Regions from separate parts of the Homo sapiens genome. Here regions 1, 3, 4, 5, 6 and 7 are each linked to region 2. The links are contacts of gene promoters, found by promoter capture Hi-C in blood cells and fetal thymus (Javierre and others, 2016). All regions are on one chromosome and are shown on one strand. The core of a region is centred on a gene start or on the middle of the fragment in contact, and the rest is flanking DNA. Distances in the headings are between cores, read along the strand shown.

Region 1 (2,700 bases), core at 61-2,560, 2.0 Mb after region 2:
GGGTAAATAATTTGAAAACATTTGAGACATTGTGGAGTGTATGTAGATATAAGGAGTGGTTTCCTAAGGCCCACAAATTTATACTTAATCACTCAGCTGTTCCTAATAAGGGCAATTTGTGGAGGAGCCCCGTTATTCAAGCTCCAGCAAAGGACTTGTGGAAGCCTTTGCTTTCCTTTACTGATCTCACCTTATTTCCCACGTGCTCAGAATCCATAATTCCTTGTGGTTTGATCTTAAATCGCTAATTCCAATTCAAATTGCTATTTCGGAAAAAAATGACTTATATATATATATATATACACACACATACATTTCTTCCCTGGTTCAGTGTGAAAAGCTGTGGGGGTGTTTGTGGAGGATGGGTTTAAAAACAGAACTGAGGTTTCCTTTTTAAAAAATGTTTCATTTTCCACCGTGATCCTTGGGATTTCAAGTTCAGTGATTACAAATACTTAACAATGAGAATCCCAATAAATCAGATTTTCATTCTAAGGGGCATATTATTGCAGATGGTATAGTTTTTTGGAAGACGTATTTCTCCCTGTTGTTCCTTCCCTGTCTTTTCACCTTCAGGAACAAGTTGCCTAAAAACAGAAAAGACTATTACATATATATTTGGTTAGATCTTAGGCAAAAATAACTCCGACCTCTGAGTTCTATTTGTGTATAAAGGAGAGCAGTATGGTCTTTTGAAGCCACTGTGTTGGAAATCCAGAGGCTTGCCTTTTGGTTCTAGTTTTGCAACTAACAGAAGAATGATCTTAGGCAAGGAGCCTCACCCCTGTTTCCTCACCTGTTAAGTGAAGTAAGTTGGATGCTCTCCAACTTCCCTCTGAATGTGGAAAATTACATGAGTTAAAGGGCACGTCCCTCCCAGGCTTAAGGCACTTCCCTAGCTCCCCACTGCCCCCCGATGAAGCCCAAACTCTCCAGTGGCCGGAGAGGGTCTTTAAGAGCTGGCAGCTATCTCTCCATGTGAACAAGCTTGCTGTGCTTCAGCTAAAAGGAACAGCTTTTAGTTCCTCAAACTTGCTGTGTTCTCTGTTGTGCTCGACATTCGTACATGCAAGGCTTCTTCAATGGCAGTTTCTGTCCCCCCATTCCCTCCCTCCACATTCCACACTTTTTCCCAGTTTACCTGATGAAGTTCTGTTCATCTTCCTGGTATTCCTCTAGATGTCGCTTCCTCCAAGATTCCTACATGTCTGGGTTAGCTTGAGATTAGTTGTCTATGTGTCCTTAGCTGCCTGGGCTCCCTCTATCACCCCACGTATTAGTCTGCATTATAATTGTCAACACACTTCCCTGTATTCCACCATGAGACCATAAAATCTAAGGGAGCAGGGATATGTCTGTCTTGCTTTCCCATTGCATCCTTGGAGCCTGGTACTTAACAGGAGTTCAGTAAAAATGGATGGAATGAACACCCATAGGTGACATTTTTAAACTTTGCCACTGAAATGTATAGCTGTCTGTCTACTGCCTTCAGATTTCCTTCACATCCAACCCCAAGCTGTGCATCAGCAATGAAATGGTAGAGGATATCAATAAGAATTGCTTTGGTACTTGCAAAGCTGTGGCCCACATGTTGTCCATGTGGCAACATTACCTTGTGTTTTAGAAAAGCTTCAAGTTATAATCCCAGCACTTTGGGAGGCCGAGGCAGGTGGATTGCCTGAGGTCAGGAGTTCGAGACCAGCCTGGCCAACATAGTGAAACCCAGTTTCTACTAAAAATACAAAAAATTAGCTGGGCATGGTGGCGAGCGCCTGTAATCCCAGCTACTCAGGAGGGTGAGGCAGAATTGCTTGAACCCGGGAGGTGGAAGTTGTAGTGAGCCGAGATCACACTGTTGCACTCCAGCCTGGGCAACAAGAGCAAAACTCTGTCTCAAAAAAAAAAAAAATATATATATATATATGTATTTTAAAACTATCAGGAGACCCTGCTTTATAGACACCAGTAATGAAGTATCTGGAATGGGCATGAAGGGAAAACATAAATAATGATAATAATAATAATGGCTAACATTTACCAAGTACATTACCTCATTTAATTTTTCGTAATTTTTCTATAAGGAAAATACAATCATTTTTCCCATTTTTATAATTGAGGCAATTAAGGTTTAATAATTTGCCCAAGGTAGTGAAGTCAAACCCATGCTTTTTACCACAATCTCATACAGCCTCACTTTCCCTCTTCCAAGCTAAGTCCATTTGTTTACTAATATGCTACCTTATTCTAAAAACATATTAAATGTAAGTTACAGGAATACATTATGTTAAAAAATTAAAAATCAGCAAGAAATTTTTTAAAAAGAAGGAAAAGAGTAGAGAGATGAGATGGAGAATCGAATGTACATAAGACCAAAATGTAAACAAAACAAAAATCAATCACAGCTCTACCTGCTATGAGCTTGCTAACACATTTGGTTCTAAGTATTTATGTGGGTGGCAGGAAAAGATAAACTTGATGGTCAGTTACAGAATTTACATTGGCCATTCTGTAGATAGAACCTGACCACTTGCTCAAAATTGCCTCATTTTATAGGCAAGAGAATTGCTTGAGCCCAGGAGGTGGAGGTTGCAGTGAGCAAAGATGGTGCGGCTGCATTCCAGCCTGGGCAACAGAGCAAAACACTGTATCAAAACAAAGCAAAACAAAACAAAACAAAAAAGTATATCCCTTAGATTCTTG
Region 2 (2,700 bases), core at 83-2,582:
AAATGTGCCAGAGGGCATGGGCTCTATATGGTTAATAAAGCAGCATAAAAACGTTACGAAGCACCTATCCCACAAGTGGAAATTCCAAGTTGGCAAATGCCTTAAAGGGCCAAGCGAAACAAACACCATAAAAATTGTAAATGCATATGTCTTTAAGATTTGTTTAAAAGTTACTGAACCTTATTTCATCATTAAGACCGTTCACACCAATGAAGCAGTGTGATATAAATGCATGAGCTATTTTGCTTTCACATTTAACCTTCTTTCTTAGTATTTTGTATCATTTCAGATCCCATCAGATTTATAAGCTGAAAAATGATTTGGGGTGTGGGGAGGAGTGAAGTTGGCAAACCCAAACAAGCAAGCAAAGAATACACTTCCATATGGTCAACCTAGGGTCAAGAATAGCTGTTTAGGTTGGAGTTCTACCTAACATACTGTGTTGACTTTGCCTAGTCAATCCACCTCTTGGCCTCAGTCTTCTCAACAAGATGAGGCTACTAATATTCACTGGACAGGAGTAGTGTTAAGGTATGAAGTAACACCTGTGACAGCACTTTGTAAACTGTAAAACACAATACAAATGGTGTTCATGATGGAATAAAAACATGCTAAACAATTATCTCATTGAAGCTTCACAATCCTGAACCAACAGCTGTTGTCCTCATTATACAAATGAGAATCCTGAAAAGAAATTAAACTTGCCCGGGACCACAAACCTAAAAAGTGGCAAATGAAGAAATTTTAAAGTATAGCAGTAAAAGTAACACTTTGGGAATTAACGGGAGGTTAACTTTCAACAATCCCAGCAAAAGATAACCGTGAAGCACTAAGAACTCCGGCGAGAACCGCACACCAGCAACAACTGCGAGGTGGTGCAGGGTCGGGGGCTGTGCTAACTGACTTAGGGGAGCATTAGGAGGCAGGTGGAGGCTCCAGAACCAAAAAGGCCGGGATGCCTTCAACAAGGAGGTTGAGGGGAGGGATGGACAAGCCTGAGAAGACGGAGGAATGAAGTTTGGGGACGCAAAACCCACTGGGAAACAGAAAGCCCTCCAAATAGGCTAGACTGCTGGATGGGAGGACAGCGGCCCCCGCGACTAAGCGGGCCGGGGCTAGGGGCCTGGGCGTCAGACTAGGACAGACACTATCCCCAGCCCGCCGCAGTGCAAGCCACGCCGCGCGGGCCGCAAAGCCACTGTCCCCGAGCCCCAACAGCGTCTCCAAGGGCAGCGCGCCAGGGTGCCCCGCAACCCCTCACCTGGAGCGCGGTGGAACCTGCGGCAGCGGACGCAGAAACCGGCCGCTGAGAGACCGAAAGCGACCGGAAGTGAAGGGCGGGACCGGAACCGGCTGAAAAACCGGAAGTGGGTGGTTTGAAACGGAAATATGTTGGGGACGGAACAACTGCTTCCTTTGAATCTCTTCGGGTGCTAATCAAATGGCCGCTGTAAGGGATCTCCACAAAGCCACGAAGAAGCCAGGCCTTTCCGAGACTGTAACCGCTGTGCAGATAGCGCCGATCCCTGGGTGGCCGCTCTCTCGTTCTGCGCGTGCGCTCGTTCTGGGCTGGGAGCGGATGGGTGCTGAGGCGTGTGACGTCTCTAGTAGTGTCGTAACTGGGTGTGCTGCCTTTTCCAGGTGTACTGAGGTCTTCGTGAGATTCAGGGCTAGGACTCGTGTGGCTGTGTCATGTTCCGAATGAAGCTTAAAAGGTGATCTTTGAGAACTGAAGACTTGAGACCCCTCCATGGGCCCAGGGGCTGCCAACACTAATAATTTCAGAGACTTAGAATCTGAGGAGAATCTCCAATCTAAGGGGAAACGGAAGAGGGTCAGGAAAGAGAAGGGGCAAGCTTAAGTGACTCAGAATCCAAGAAGCAAGTCTCATAGGAGAGCTGCGATCGAGGTTACCATACAGTATCCAATCGTCTCAACCTTCCCATCCATACTTCCATGCTGTCTTTCCTCTGAATGCAAGGAAAACCGGTTACACAAACGCTGACAAAAGAATGTCAGACTTGAATGGAAATTCGGAGCAGTACCCATCTGGTCCATACAGCGAACTCCCAGTGAGCACCACGGCAATGTAACTAATTCATGTTTCCCTCTTGGCAGTGCGGGAAAGGCAGCAAAGAGCCAAGTTTTGTATCTTAACAGTTCTTTAGTTAAGAGGCACACGCTATTTTGCATTCTTCCCTACTTTTGATAATTTTTGGCTGCACTAGTAATGCATGAGTATCTGCTCATTTAAAAAACTCAAACTTTTTCAGTGAAAAGTATGCCCTTTTCTTCAGAAAGTCTTAATTAAAAAAAAAAAAAAAATCATTGCCCAGACCAACATTTTCAAGCATTTTCTCAAATCGTTTTCTTGGAATAGCTGCATAGTTTTGGGTCTTACATTGAAGTTTGGTGCTCATATGTGGGAGCTAAAAAAAAGTTGACTCCATGGAGATAGAGAGTAAAATTGTGGTTACCAGAGGCTGGGAAGGATAAGGAGGGAGAAGGAGATGAAGAGAAGTTAAAAGGAGCGAAAATATGGTTAGACAGAAGGAATAAGTTGTAGCGTTCCACAGCACAGTAGGGTGACTATAGTAATCAATAATTTATTTTGTATTTCAAAATAGAGGAGAAAGGTTGGGATAGTCTCAACACAAATGATAAATGTTGGCCGGGCACAGTGTGGCTCACACCTGTAAT
Region 3 (2,700 bases), core at 110-2,609, 2.0 Mb after region 2:
TTTGAATATGCCTTATTTTGTAGATTTGACTTTGAAAACGTCAAAACATTTTACATACTTATAAAATAAAATTTAAATTTATAAAAAGTGGCCCCCAAATCGAAAAGTAAAATGAAACAAATGAATGTATATATATGTTGTACTATTGGAGTAACTCCACAGAAAGGGACTATTATTCCAAGTGATTTTAAAATCGAGTGATGTGCTGGAAGAGCCCTGATGGATCACAAAGACATCTAATAAAAGCTTGGTTTTTATTACTTTGTTACTGTTAGATGAGCCTGTGAACCAACCTTTATGTTGAGAATTGGTAAATAAAAGCAAACATTTAACCTGTCTTTCTTAAACTATACCACTAGATAACCGAACTATAGAAGAGATGGATGTTTCTTTCCATAAAAGTATTTTTTTCCTTTTTAACAGAAAAATGATAATATCCTTGTTTTCCAACCTCTACAAACAAATGGATCTAGGCACGGATCATCATCAGCTGTTAACATCCCTAAATGAAAGACAATCAGATATTATGTGCTTAATGATGGAAAAACGCACCAAGAATGCTGGATCCAAAACAAAACACCTGAATCTAATTAAGCCTTTGACGCCAACTCACAGGAAATATAAGAGGGCAGAAAAACATGCTACACCCCAGTGATGTAATCAGCAAAATGCAATCTATGACAAATTCTGCTGGACAAATGACTCAGGACCTCTAACAAATAAATTGCAAAGATAGAAAAGAGAGATGGGAGGAAAGTCTATAGATTTTGAAGAGACTGAACACACTATCATGTGTGGACCTTATTTGGATCCTATTTCAAACAAACCACCATACAAATAAAATTATAACTTTATGAGAAAATTAGAAAATTAGTACTGACTGGATATTTGATAATATGAAGGAAATATTGTATTTAGGTTTGATAATATCAAGGTTATGTTTTAAAAGAACCTATATCTTCCAGAAAGATCTACTAAAATATAGATAAAAGGACACAGGGTTTTGCTTCTAAATAATACTAGATGGGGGAAGAGTGAATAGAAATGAAACAAATTCGCAGTGAGTTAGTAACTATAGATTGTGTGTGACACATACATAGAAATTACTGTATTTTTCCATCCAATTTTATATATGTTTCAAATTTTTCATAAAATCCCCTAGATCAGTTTATAAGCTCCCAGCTCTTATCCAACTTCCCTTTTTTTCTCCTGTAACTAGGTTTCTTCTGGGCTACTCAAACTTAAAAAATACTCATTTACAGACGGGTGTGGTGGCTCACGCCTGTAATCCCAGCACTTTGGGAGGCTGAGACGGGTGGATCACCTGAGGTCAGGAGTTCGAGACCAGCCTGACCAGCCTGGTCAATTTTTCTTTAGTAGAAATCCCATTTCTACTAAAAATACAAAAAAAAAAAAAAAATTAGCCAGGCGTGGTGGTGGGTGCCTGTAATCCCAGCTACTCAGGAGACTGAGGCAGGAAAATCACTTGAACCCAGGAGGCAGAGGTTGCAGTGAGCCAAGATCATGCCATTGCACTCCAGCCTGGGCAACAAGGGCAAAACTTCATCACACACACACACACAAAAATACTCATTTACCAGAATAACCATTAAGTTCTCCTCTGTAGCATAATAGTACCCCTGAACATCCCTTGAAGAGAATCAATAAGTAAGTGAACAACCTACAAAGCAAATAAATTAGGAGTCTGTTTATGTTAATGCTATCTTTCTTCTCCCCTGGCAAATACAACTTCTGTAGTGGATTTCTATGAGCATTGGTAGATCATTCAGTGCCTAAGGGAGAAGGAAATCCGACATTTTTAGCTCAAGTGCTGGTAGGCACTGCCAAATCCACATCAATCAGAAAGGAAAAATATTCTGGAAATTTGAACAGAGGTATAAATGAAAATAAGAACGTACTTCTTTCCTGCCCAAGTGTCCTGCCTGTTACGCAATCTTCCAAGTGAGAATGATTCTTTATATTCGGTCTACGAACATGTGACCATTTCATCATTTTGAAAAAGAAATTAATAAAATATTTAAAAGTTAACAGTGTTCTGGGAGCATCATTTACCAAACACAGCTGCAAATTCTCAGTGGCGGGCATTCATGATGGGTTTAAATGCAGTGTCTTCATAACAAACTCAGTCGGTGGCCTGGTTTCACCAAAAGTAATAATAACATTGGGCACACAAGCAATTTGCTTCTGAGAAGGGGGGGCTTTAGGTGCCCCCCCAGGCAGACATGACTGACAGACCCCAAGCAAGAGGGGGGTGGGTCCCATAAATGCAGGGCGACTGCCAGGAGAACATGGCTTTGGAAATGCAGGTTCTGACATTTACAGCTTAAACCCTGTTTCTCTGTAAGCAAAATACTTGCATTGTCATTATCTGTTTGATTTTTCTGGAAAGAAATGAAATATTAAGACTTTTTACTGAAGTGAAATATTAGGCTAGTGTAGTGGGTAAGCTTGAGTTCTGGGTTTCAATCTGTCATCTGCCACTTATGAGCTATATAAACAATAGCATGTTCCTTAACCTCTCCGAGCCTCAGTTTCCTTACCTTGTAAGGGTGACAATTTACAATAGTGCCTGTCCTCAATGTTTATTTTGATTATATAACTACAGCATGTAGAATACTTAACACAGTAGCCAGCAAAGACATGTCAAAAGACAAAATTACAATAAATTTATAGAATTAA
Region 4 (2,700 bases), core at 80-2,579, 1.4 Mb after region 2:
GATACAAAAATTAGCCAGGGGTAGTGGCGGGCCCCTGTAGTCCCAGCTACTTGGGAGGCTGAGGCAGAATTGCTTGAATCTGGAAAGTGGAGGTTTCAGTGAGCCAAGATAGTGCCACTCCAGCCTGGGCGACAGAGCGAGACTCCATCTCAAAAAAAAATTTTTTTTGGCCAGGTGCAGTGGCTCACACCTGTATCCCAGTACTTTGGGAGTTCAAGGCACGTGGATCACTTGAGCCCAGGAGTTGAAGACCAACCTGAGCAATATGGTGAAACCTCATCTCTGCTAAAAATACAAAAATTAGTCAGGTGTGGTGGCAAGTAGTCTCAGCTACTCAAGAGGCTGAGGTAGGAGGATTACTTGAGCTCAGGAGGTCAAGGCTGCAGTGAACAGTGATGGTGCCACTGTACTCCGGCCTGGGCAATGGAGGGAGACATCGTCTCAAGAAAAACAAGAAAAATCTTTGTTGTCATTTTAACCATGTTCTTCACTGGCAGTAGAGTCCATCTCAAGAAACCACTTATTTTGCTCATCTAGAAGAAGCAACTCATCATTCAAGCTTTATCATGAGATTACAGCAATTCAGTCACATCTTCAGGCTCCGCTCCTAATTCTAGTTTTCTTGCTGTTCTCACCACATCTGCAGTGACGTCCGTCACTGAAGTCTTGAACCCCTCAAAGTGATCCATGAGGTTTGGAATCAACTTCCAGACTCCTGTAAATGTTGATATTTTTACCATGAATCACAATTTTTTTTTTTTTTGAGACGGAGTCTTGCTCTGTCGCCCAGGCTGGAGTGTAGTGGCACGATCTCGGCTCACTGCAAGCTCTGCCTCCTGGGTTCACGCCATTCTCCTGCCTCAGCCTCCCAAGTAGCTGGGACTACAGGCGCCCACCACCACGCCTGGCTAATTTTTAATTTTTAAGTTTTCTGTAGAGATGAGGTTTCGCTATGTTGCTGAGGCTAGCCTTGAACTCCTGAGTTTAAGCAGTCCTCCTGCCTTGGCCTCCCAAAGTGCTAGGATTACAGGTGTGAGCTGTGCCCAGCCACTAATATTCTTAATGGCAAAACTAGTATGGTGAATTCTTTCCAGAAGGTTTTCAATTTACTTTTCCCAGATCCATCAGAGGAATCACTAGCTAGGCAGTTACAGCCTTATGGAATGTATTTTCTTAAATAATAAGACTTGAAAGTCTAAATGACTTCTTGATCCATGGGCTACAAAACGAACATTGTGTTAGCAGACATGAAAACACTCATCTCTTTGTACGTCTCCATCAGAGCTCCTTGGTGACTCCTTGTCCATGTGAAATAATATTTTGAAAAGAATCTTTTCTTCTGAGCAGTAGATCTCAACAGTGGGCTTAAAATAATCAGTAAACTATGCTGTAAACAGATGCGCCATCATTTAGGCTTTGTTGTTCTATTTCTATAGCACAAGCAGAGTAGATTTAGCATAATTCTTAAGGGCCCCAGGATTTTCATAATGTGCAGTGAGCACTGGCTCACAGCTGCGTTAGCCCATGAGAAGAGATTCAGCCTGTCCTTTGAGGCTTTGAAGCCAGGCACTGACCTCTCTAGCTATGAAAGTCCTAGATGGCATCTTCCACTGGAAGGCCGTTTCATCTCCATTGAAAATCTGTTTAGTGTAACCACTTTCATTAGATGATCTTAGCTAGACCTTCTGGATAATTTGCCATAGCTTCTACATCAGCACTTACTGTTTCACCTTAAATTTTTCTCTTATGGAGGCGGCTTCTTTTCTTAAACCTCATAAACTTCTGCTAGCTTCAGCTTCTCTTTTGCAGCTTCCTCACCTCTCTCAGCCTTCATAGAACTGTATAGAGTTAGGGCCTTGCTCTGGATTAGGCTTTGGCTTAAGGGAATGTTGTGGCTAGTTTGATATTCTATTCAAACCACTCAAACTTTCTCCATATCAGCAGTGAAGCTCTGTTTCACTTATCATTGTTGTGTTCACTAGACTAGCACTTTAAATTTCCTTCAAGAACATTTCCTTTGCATTCACAACCTAACTTTTTGGCACAAGAGGCATAGCTTTTAGCCTGTCTCAGCTTTCAACATACCTTCCTAAGCTTAATCATTTCTAGCTTTTGATTGAAAGTAGGAGATGTGCAGCTCTTCCTTTCACTTGAACACTTAGAGGTCATTGTAGGGTTATTAATTGACCTAATGTCAATATTGTGTCTAAGGGAATAGAGATGCCAGAGGAGAGGGAGAGCGGCAGGAATGGGCAGTCAGTGGAGCAGTCAGGACACATTCAACTTACTATCAATTAGCAGCGTGGTTCATGCTATCCCCAAACAATTACAATAGTAACATCAAAGATCACTGATCACAGACTGCTATAACAGAAAGAATAATGAAAAAGTTGGAAATATTGTAAGAATTACTAAAATGCGGCCGGGCATGGTGGCTTACGCCTGTAATCCCAGCACTTTGGGAGGTGGAGGCAGGCGGATCACGAGGTCAGGAGATCGAGACCATCCTGGCTAACACGGTGAAACCCCGTCTCTACTAAAAATACAAAAAAAAATTAGCCGGGCGTGGTGGCAGGCACCTGTGGTCCCAGCTACTTGGGAGGCTGAGGCAGGAGAATGGCGTGAACCCGGGAGGCGGAGCTTGCAGTGAGCCAAGATCGCGCCACTGCACTCCAGCCTGGGCGACAGAGCAAGACTCCG
Region 5 (2,700 bases), core at 66-2,565, 1.5 Mb after region 2:
ATGTTTGAATCAGTGACCCGGCAAAGGCACATCAGTGTCTTCCCTATTGTGATGCTATGTCAAACTGGCCTAAACACACACACACACACACACACACACACACACACAGCAGTGTGGTGCAGAAATCATCTGAGACTATTCCTTAGTTGCACTGGAGACAGCTGACTGGAAACAGCTGCAATGAGCTGAGAAAAGTGACAAGGCTGAATTTTAAGCTTGGCCTTTTCTGAAGCCTAAGTACCGCTGTTCTCGGTTTTATGTAAGTCATACTCATGCCCTTTTGGCAACCTCTGTGTAACAGAGATGCTGTTCAAATTTGAGAGTTCATTTTACTGCTGTACACAGGGCTCAGATGTTCTTGATTTTGCCTATTTTCTTGCTCTTTATTTGCAGGAAGTGAAGTCAAAGTTATCCAAAGAATATCACTTTATTAAAATGAAAACATCAAGACACCATATTGTGGGAAATTATTTCAGCAATCAAAGTAAACTACAACAACAGGACTCAAACAAATTTTCAATCATGGTATCACGTCAGAGGCCCAATAAATCAGGTTTGTTTTGAAATCCTTCTCAGCAGGATGTGTGCGAGTAAAAGGACTGTGTAGGCTCCCTGCAGGAAAACTGAATTTGGAACTGGAGACAAGCCATTCACCTAGACAATGGTCTAGGAGCCAAACCCTGCATGTCATATGCATTTTGGATTGACCACACACACTTGTTCACACCGGCACAGGCTGCACACCAACACACCTGTAGCTAAAACAAAGTAATGATAACACTTTTTCTTACAGCTTTATAATGTCAAGACGTGAGCTTGAACACACCAGTTCATTTCACAGTGACAGATATACCTAGAAAAAGCTTGCTTGAAGCACAATTATAAACCAGAACCACCGTGGGCTAGGTATGGTGCTGCGATACTAAGGAGAAATATAGACACTAGAATTATGTGGAAAAGAGGATAATGCTCTTTAGTCTTGTCTTACCATCTCTATAGGCATGTCAATATTAAAAAGGAGGAAAAGCAATTGCATTCCACTTGCAAGTACAGCTTGTGTGTGAGTTCTTTGTTGGTATCAGTGATGGCTTAGGCTTAATGATGACGAAAAACCTTTCCTCCTATGCTTTTTTTCTTCTTTAGTATTCCCAGTATTGCAACAGCCTCCTATACTTTTATTATTACTTTTTTTTGAGACCTCGTATCACCTCTGTAGAGGTCTCTATGATGTCCCTATGATCTCGGCTCACTGCAGCTTCCACTTACAGGGTTCAAGCGATTCTCGTGCCTCATCCTCCTGAACAGCTGGAACTAGAGGCAGATGCTGCCATGCCCAACTAATTTTTGTATTTTTAGTAGAGACAGGGTTTCACCACGTTGGCCAGGCTGGTCTTGAACTCCTGGCCTCAAGTGTTCTGCCCGCCTCGGCCTCCCAAAGTGCTGGGATTACAGGTGTGAGCCACTGTGCCTGGCTACTTTTAAAATTTTATTACTGCAAGGAAAAGAATACAACTGCTCCACAAGGGAATTCAAAGAGATTCTATGACAGAGATACAAAGTGAAATATTTTACAGTTAAAACACCATTACACTTAATTTTGCACTCCTTGTTTTTTCATAAACATTCCACACTGTCCTCTCTGTGAATTTGGATGGGTAACTTGGATCTGAATTGATGAAATACATCATTTTAAAGTCAGCGACAAAATGTAGCTCCTCATGTATTCTTCATTATGTTTCACTGATGATATGACCTAACAAAGCTTCTTCTTGCTGTTACAGCCTGATGGAACTTACATTTTATGTGAATATTTTGCAAAGGATTATGCATTCTCAAATGCATAGGCATTTTTTTCCAGAAAGCATTTGTATATGTCCACAAATAGTATTATCTTACTGGTATCTATATTTTGATTTTCCTGAGCAACTGTATCCAATCAGAGTTTAGAGTAGGCATATATTTTTTTAAATTAAAACTGTGGCATACATATAAAACATACCTAGTTCTTTTTTTTCCCCCCTTCCAACTTTTGTTTTTGGATCAGGAGGTACACGAAAGGTTTGTTGCAGGTGTAAATCGTGTGTCACTGGGGTTTGGTGCACAAATTATTTTGTCACCCAGGTAGTGATCACAGTACCCAATAGGTAGTTTTGTGATTCTCACCCTCCTCCCACCCTTCACCCTCAAGTAGGAACTCTTTCTTGAATGAATCCAATCCTCACCCATGTTTCTGTTGTTTTCTTGCTTTCTGAAGGTCATCAACTCTGTGCGACGTCAATGCCTTTCTCTCATGTACACTCAACTGTCTGCAGTGCCATGGTGAAAATTTTCAGTATGTAGGGCATATTCTCTGAGATCTTGATTCCAGGGATATATACTTAATCATAAGAAGTTGACAAAGCTGGTCTTCACACACTGTCATACCATTACAGTAAAGTGCTCTATAGGGAAAGCTAAAACCACCCACCACATAGCAATACACAGGAATATTCCTTTCCCTTGACAATCTTGGTAGCAAAGCAATAACTGGTAAAATAGAAATAAATGTTGCAATGAGACTTGGAGTGCATTTCAACTACCTAATGGTGGCAAATTGCATAGGCAAATTAAGGTCCCCCAAACTGCTCTCATTTTGGGAACAAGCATACTGTCTTTGTGTTACAGCCAGGCAAGCAGGCCGGGGTAAATCCTAGCTTGGGC
Region 6 (2,700 bases), core at 155-2,654, 1.7 Mb after region 2:
AGAAGTTTGGGGTGGTTTACATAGACAAAGTTTAGGAGAAAAAATCAGAATTTTAACTTTTTTTATACAAGGCTTTTTTTTTTTTTTTTTCCTGAGACAGACTTTCATTCTGCAACCTAGGCTGGAATGCAGTGGCACCATCAGCGTTCACTACAGGCTCGACCTCCTGAGATCAGGTGATCCTCCCACCTCAGTCTGCTGAGTAGCTGGGACTGCAGGTGTGTGCCATCATACCCAGTCAATTTTTTATAGACACAGGGCTTCGCCGTGTTGCCCAGGCTGGCCTTAAACTCCTGGGCTCCAGTGATTATCCCACCTTGGTTTCCCAAAGTGCTAGGATTCCTGCTGTGAGCCACCATGCCCGGCCTTATGTAAGGCTTAATGCATAATTACAATGGTCTGATTGGTGAAGGTCATCTTTTTCTTTCAGGAAAGATATACTGAACATTCCATACTGAAGATGAAACAGTCATGAGGTCTTTTGCGCCATCTGGTTTGAGTTAGGTACAGAATAATGCAGGAGACAATCTATAACAAAGGTCAGTGATTAGAAGGGGAGGACATCTGGTCTCTGGTCTCTCCCAGTCATTTATAGCACAAGAACAATGAGAAAAGAGAGTTGATCTATAATCTAAGAAGCAGAAGTTGCAACTACATGCTAAGTGACTCAGATCACCAGTTCTCTCTCAAGGTTTAAAGTCTTTTTGGAAGCCAGGTGTGGTGGCACATACCTATAATCCCAGCATGCTGGAAAGCCAAGGTGGGCTGATTGCTTGTGCTCAGGAACTCAAGACCAGCCTGGGCAACATGGCGAAACCCTGTCTCTACAAAAAAATACAAAAATTAGCCAGGTGTGGTGGTGCGCACCTATAGTCCCAGCTACTCGGAGGCTGAGGTGGGACTTTGCCAGAAAAAAAAAGTGCTTTGGGGGTTCCAACAGCTTTTGAATGTATTTATGTTCACAACTTTTGTCTCTATTATTTATTTCAAATTAATTTTTGTGTATGATGTGAGCTAAAGGTCGAAGTTCATTTTTTTCATATGGCTGTCCAGTTCTTTCAGTACCGTTTATTGAAAAGATCATTCTGAGCAGCAACATGGTGGTTGGCAAGAACAAGTACCTTACGAAAGACAGCAAAAAGGGAGCCAAGAAGTGGCTGATCCATTTTCTTTTTTTCTTTTTTCTTTTTTTTGAGACAGTCTTGCTCTATCCCCCTGGCTGGAATACAATGGTGTGATCTCAGCTCACTGCAACCTCCGCCTCCCGAGTTCAAGCAATTCTCATGCCTCAGCCTCCTGAGTAGCTGGGATTACAGGTGCCTGCTACCATGCCTGGCTAATTTTTTTTTTTTTTTTTTTTGAGATAGCGTCTCACTCTGTTGCTCAGGCTAGAGTGCAATGGCACGATCTCGGCTCACTGCAACCTCTGCCTCCCAGGTTCAAGCAATTATCCTGCCTCTGCCTCCCAAGTAGCTGGGATTACAGGCGTGTGCCACCACACACGGCTAAGTTTTTGTATCTTTAGTAGAGACGGGGGTTTCACCATGTTGGCCAGCCTGGTCTCAAATTCCTGACCTCAGGTGATTCACCCGCCATGGCCTCCCAAAATGCTGGGATTACAGGCTTAAGTCACTGCGCCCAGTCTAATTTTTCTATTTTTAGTAGAGACGGGGTTTCACCATCTTGGCCAGGCTGGTCTTGAACTCCTGACCTCAGGTGATCCACCTGCCTCGGCCTCCCAAAGTGCTAGGATTACAGGTGTGAGCCACCACCCCTGGCTGGTTGATCCATTTTCTAAGAAAGATTGGTACGATGTGAAAGCATGCTATGTTCAGTAGAAGAAATACTGGAAAGACACTGGTCACCAGGACCCAGGGAACCAAAATTGCACCTGGTAGTCTGAAGGGTCGTGTGTTTGAAGTGAGTCTTGCTGATTTGCAGAATGATGAAGTTGCATTTAGAAAATTCAAGCTGATTACTGAAGATGTTCAAGGCAAAAACTACCTAACTTCCAAGGCATGGATCTTACCTGTGACATGGGGGAGAGAGTGGAATTTAGCCTAAGTCAGCCTGGTCCCAAGGTTCCTTAATCTGGAACTCTAAGGCCTTTTTAGAATATTATCTTAATTGTCTGCTTGTCTGTTGAATGAAAAGGGATCCATGTAGGCCTCACGCCTGTAATCTCAGCACTTTTGGGAGGCCGAGGCAGGTGGATCACCTCAGGTCAGGAGCTCTTGACCAGCCTGGCCAACATGGTGAAACCCCGTCCCTACTAAAAATACAAAAAATTAGCCAGGCCTGGTGGCAGATGCCTATAATTCCAGCTACCCGGGAGGCTGAGGCAGGAGAATCGCTTGAACCCAGGAGACAGAGGTTGCAGTGAGCCGAGATCGCCCCACTGCACTCCAGCCTGGGCAACAAAAGTGAAATTCCGTCTCAAAAAAAAAAAAGAAGAAAGAAAGAAAGAAAGAAAGAAAGAAAGAAAGAAAGAAAGAAAGAAAGAAAGAGGCTCCATATAATTGGTATTGGAAATTTCTCCTCAGTCATCCGTAACTATCAAACTGTTAGTGCAATCCTGAACTAAAGGTCTTTAATTATGACTTTGTTCATCACAAAGGTTTCCGACTCTTTGAAAAAGACAGAACATCATTATTTCTTCCGACAAGTGCTTCTTCAAATGGGATCCCAATCCTTAAACCT
Region 7 (2,700 bases), core at 91-2,590, 1.4 Mb after region 2:
CATTTAGAGGTCTCAAATAAAAGATTGCCTGATCTCAGGATGAGTGAAATCTTGACAATAAGCTTAAAACAAAGAGAAACCATATAAAAAATATAGATTCATTTGACTTCAGTTTTTTTTTAAAGGAATAAAATTTAAAAGGCAAACTGGGAAAAATACTTCTCAATCTGTTTCACTTTACTCCTTATTCCTTTGTTAGCAGTTAGTACCACATTATACCTATACTTTACCTTTTCTCTTGGTGTATAGTTTTGTTTTAGCAAAGCATATTCTTGAACTTTTAAGAGGAAAAAATACCAACAAGGACTGCTCAAGTTTTTTCTTGTTAATTATTTTACTGATGATTCTTAATGTAGATAAGAAGTATTGACTGCCTGTAAGTAAAAGCCTCATTTTAGCTTTTAATCAATTCTACCTCTAAAAACTGGACTGAAACTTACCAAGTAAAATAATTTGATATTATCTGAATGTCAAGTAGTCAAATAAGCAGAAAATGGAGAATAAAGAGGAGGGCTACGATGAACACTAATAATTTACAAACTGAATAGTTGACCCTTGACTAACTGAATACTGGCTGTGTTTACATAGCTCTAGAAGCATGTGTTAGTCCATTTTCATGCTGCTGATAAAGGCATACCCAAGACTGGGAAGAAAAAGAGGTTTAATTGGACACAGTTCCACATGGCTGGGGAGGCCCCAGAATCATGGCGGGAGGTGAAAGGCACTTTTTACATGGCAGCAGCAAGGGAAAATGAGGAAGAGGCAAAAGCAGAAACCCCTGATAAGACCATGAGATCTTGGGAGGGATAGCATTACATATGCCTCATGTAAATGACGAGTTAACGGTTGCAGCATACAAACATGGCACATGTATACACCTGCACGTTGTGCACATGTACCCTAGAACTTAAAGTATAAAAAAAAAAAAAAGACCATCAAATCTTGTGAGACTTACTCACTACCACTAGAACAGTATGAGGGAAACCGCCCTCATGATTCAAATTATCTCCCAACAGGTCCCTCCCACAACACGTGGGAATTATGAGAGTACAATTCAAGATGAGATTTGGGTGGGGACACAGCCAAACCATATCAAAGCATGTGTGCAAAACTTGAGGATGGTAACTTCTCGCAGTTGGCACTAAAGATCTAGTGAGTCAGTGTTGCTGAGTTGTGCAGAGTGAAGTTGCTGGAGTGTTCTGAGAAGCAAATGTGAAAATGAGTAAAAGCACTTTGGAAACAACAAACAGTTTCATAAACAATAATGATTGTGTCTATGGATTTTATTCTTGTATTCTTCATTCTTTGGTGATTCCTTCCATCTTTCATTCCCTCTCTTAACTTTCTTTTTGGCCTAATATTAGAGTCCGTTAAGATTTGGTATTGTTAGCCAGTTATACTGCTGAACTACCCAGTAGTTGTAACTGTTACATTTAAACAGTGTGATCCTAGTAATTACCTATCTTTATCAGGACAGAGAAACCTACTCTTCAAGTCACTCATTTTCAAGACTCTTGTTTTAAGCAAAGAGAAAGTTAATATGTTGAGTAAGCCTAGATAGAACACATGTGAGAAGGGCTCATTTTGTACTTTCTGGTGACTATTAGATTGTTCTGAAAATTACAGATACTATTTAAACTAGTGAAGAAATGTAAAAATTACAGCAACATTTTTTTTCCTGGTTTATGTTCTCTTGTGAAACAGCAGCATTTCTTAAAGTTATTTTTCTTCTTTTACTTTCCCTCCATTATTACATCTCATGTCTGTTTATGTTTGCAGAAATTAAATACAGATAAAAATCTGGAAATAAAAGGTAGTTATTGATGGTGACAGCAGAAATGTTAAAAATCATTAGATATTTTGTGGGTCAAGTTTTCTTTTGGTATTACTGTCAGACTGGTTTAAAATAATATACAGAAAATTTTTTTGGTGTTATCAAAGTATTCTTGGTTACCTTTAAGTGTTATAATGATAATTACATGAAAGGAAATGTAAGTAGAAAAGCCTGTATCCAAAGACTTTGAGCCTTCAACAGAAGGTCATAATAATGGTTGCCGGTACTTTAAAAAAAACAACAACTAAGTGTAAAGAGATAATTTTTTAAAATTTCAAGTTAGGAATCTCAATTTAGGATTGGTGAAAGTCCGTAAGTCACTTGTTTGACTGTAGTGTTAGTTTAAATGGTATGAAATTTATTGGGGAGGGGCGGTGTCTTTTTCTGTAATTTTGTTTGCAGATCAAATTCTAGACCTTTGTCTGGATTGTTGTGTGTGTGTTTAAGAAACCGTTGAGAGTGCCCCCTCTAGCGTCTGTGATATATTCTTAAAACATTTGTGTCAGAAGTTTTCAGAATTAAACTAGCCATTTTTTTCCTTTCAAATCTGGACATAATTTTTATTTTTATTTTTAACACGGAGGGATTGTTTTCTTTTTTAAAAAAGGTCACTGGAATTATGGGTAGGGCATAGATTGAGGGCAGTAGAAAACATGAGAAAGGAAGGATTAAAATGCCATTTCTACCTTTTTAGAAATAGTTATTTTTAAATGACCTGGAATAAGGCCAAACCATACAGTGTTGTTTTTAGTTTACATTTGTTTCTGAATTAGTTGAAGCTTAAAATACTTTGTCTTGGAATTCTTTATGCCATCAAATCTCATCTTGAGGGGGTTCTTTGCAGTTTCTGAAAGCAACAGCTTCAT

Evidence for each region. The method cuts DNA at HindIII sites, captures the fragments that hold promoters and counts their contacts. A CHiCAGO score of 5 or more calls a contact.
Region 1: a fragment that was not itself captured here is called in contact with the fragment with the promoter of UBLCP1 in region 2 in 1 of 17 cell types (fetal thymus); the score reaches 8.0 in fetal thymus.
Region 3: a fragment that was not itself captured here is called in contact with the fragment with the promoter of UBLCP1 in region 2 in 2 of 17 cell types (naive CD8 T cells and naive CD4 T cells); the score reaches 6.1 in naive CD8 T cells.
Region 4: a fragment that was not itself captured here is called in contact with the fragment with the promoter of UBLCP1 in region 2 in 1 of 17 cell types (fetal thymus); the score reaches 5.1 in fetal thymus.
Region 5: a fragment that was not itself captured here is called in contact with the fragment with the promoter of UBLCP1 in region 2 in 5 of 17 cell types (fetal thymus, activated CD4 T cells, total CD8 T cells and 2 more); the score reaches 14.6 in fetal thymus.
Region 6: a fragment that was not itself captured here is called in contact with the fragment with the promoter of UBLCP1 in region 2 in 1 of 17 cell types (activated CD4 T cells); the score reaches 5.3 in activated CD4 T cells.
Region 7: a contact is called between a fragment that was not itself captured here and the fragment with the promoter of UBLCP1 in region 2, in 7 of 17 cell types (fetal thymus, total B cells, erythroblasts and 4 more). The highest score is 8.8, in fetal thymus.

Annotation. Positions count from the first base shown.
Region 1 is chr5:157,262,002-157,264,701 of GRCh38, reverse strand. No RefSeq gene overlaps it. Among named protein-coding and RNA genes, the nearest start is that of CYFIP2, 2.8 kb to the left of the region's middle. The HindIII fragment of the contact is 642 bases long and covers 990-1,631 here.
Region 2 is chr5:159,261,922-159,264,621 of GRCh38, reverse strand. UBLCP1 (ubiquitin like domain containing CTD phosphatase 1) reads right to left here and starts at 1,332. Exons shown (of 11, transcript NM_145049.5): 1 at 1,262-1,332. RefSeq lists enhancers at 1,092-1,599, 1,356-1,665, 1,696-1,765, 1,600-2,107. The HindIII fragment of the contact is 1,074 bases long and covers 636-1,709 here.
Region 3 is chr5:157,279,084-157,281,783 of GRCh38, reverse strand. The region is part of intron 1 of CYFIP2 (cytoplasmic FMR1 interacting protein 2); the gene reads right to left. Among named protein-coding and RNA genes, the nearest start is that of CYFIP2, 14 kb to the right of the region's middle. The HindIII fragment of the contact is 2,222 bases long and covers 249-2,470 here.
Region 4 is chr5:157,845,574-157,848,273 of GRCh38, reverse strand. The region is part of intron 1 of CLINT1 (clathrin interactor 1); the gene reads left to right. Among named protein-coding and RNA genes, the nearest start is that of CLINT1, 12 kb to the left of the region's middle. The HindIII fragment of the contact is 1,535 bases long and covers 562-2,096 here.
Region 5 is chr5:157,745,402-157,748,101 of GRCh38, reverse strand. The region is part of intron 1 of LSM11 (LSM11, U7 small nuclear RNA associated); the gene reads right to left. Among named protein-coding and RNA genes, the nearest start is that of LSM11, 3.0 kb to the right of the region's middle. The HindIII fragment of the contact is 899 bases long and covers 866-1,764 here.
Region 6 is chr5:157,604,033-157,606,732 of GRCh38, reverse strand. No RefSeq gene overlaps it. Among named protein-coding and RNA genes, the nearest start is that of ADAM19, 30 kb to the right of the region's middle. The HindIII fragment of the contact is 2,938 bases long and covers 1-2,700 here.
Region 7 is chr5:157,820,443-157,823,142 of GRCh38, reverse strand. The region is part of intron 1 of CLINT1 (clathrin interactor 1); the gene reads left to right. Among named protein-coding and RNA genes, the nearest start is that of CLINT1, 37 kb to the left of the region's middle. The HindIII fragment of the contact is 2,551 bases long and covers 65-2,615 here.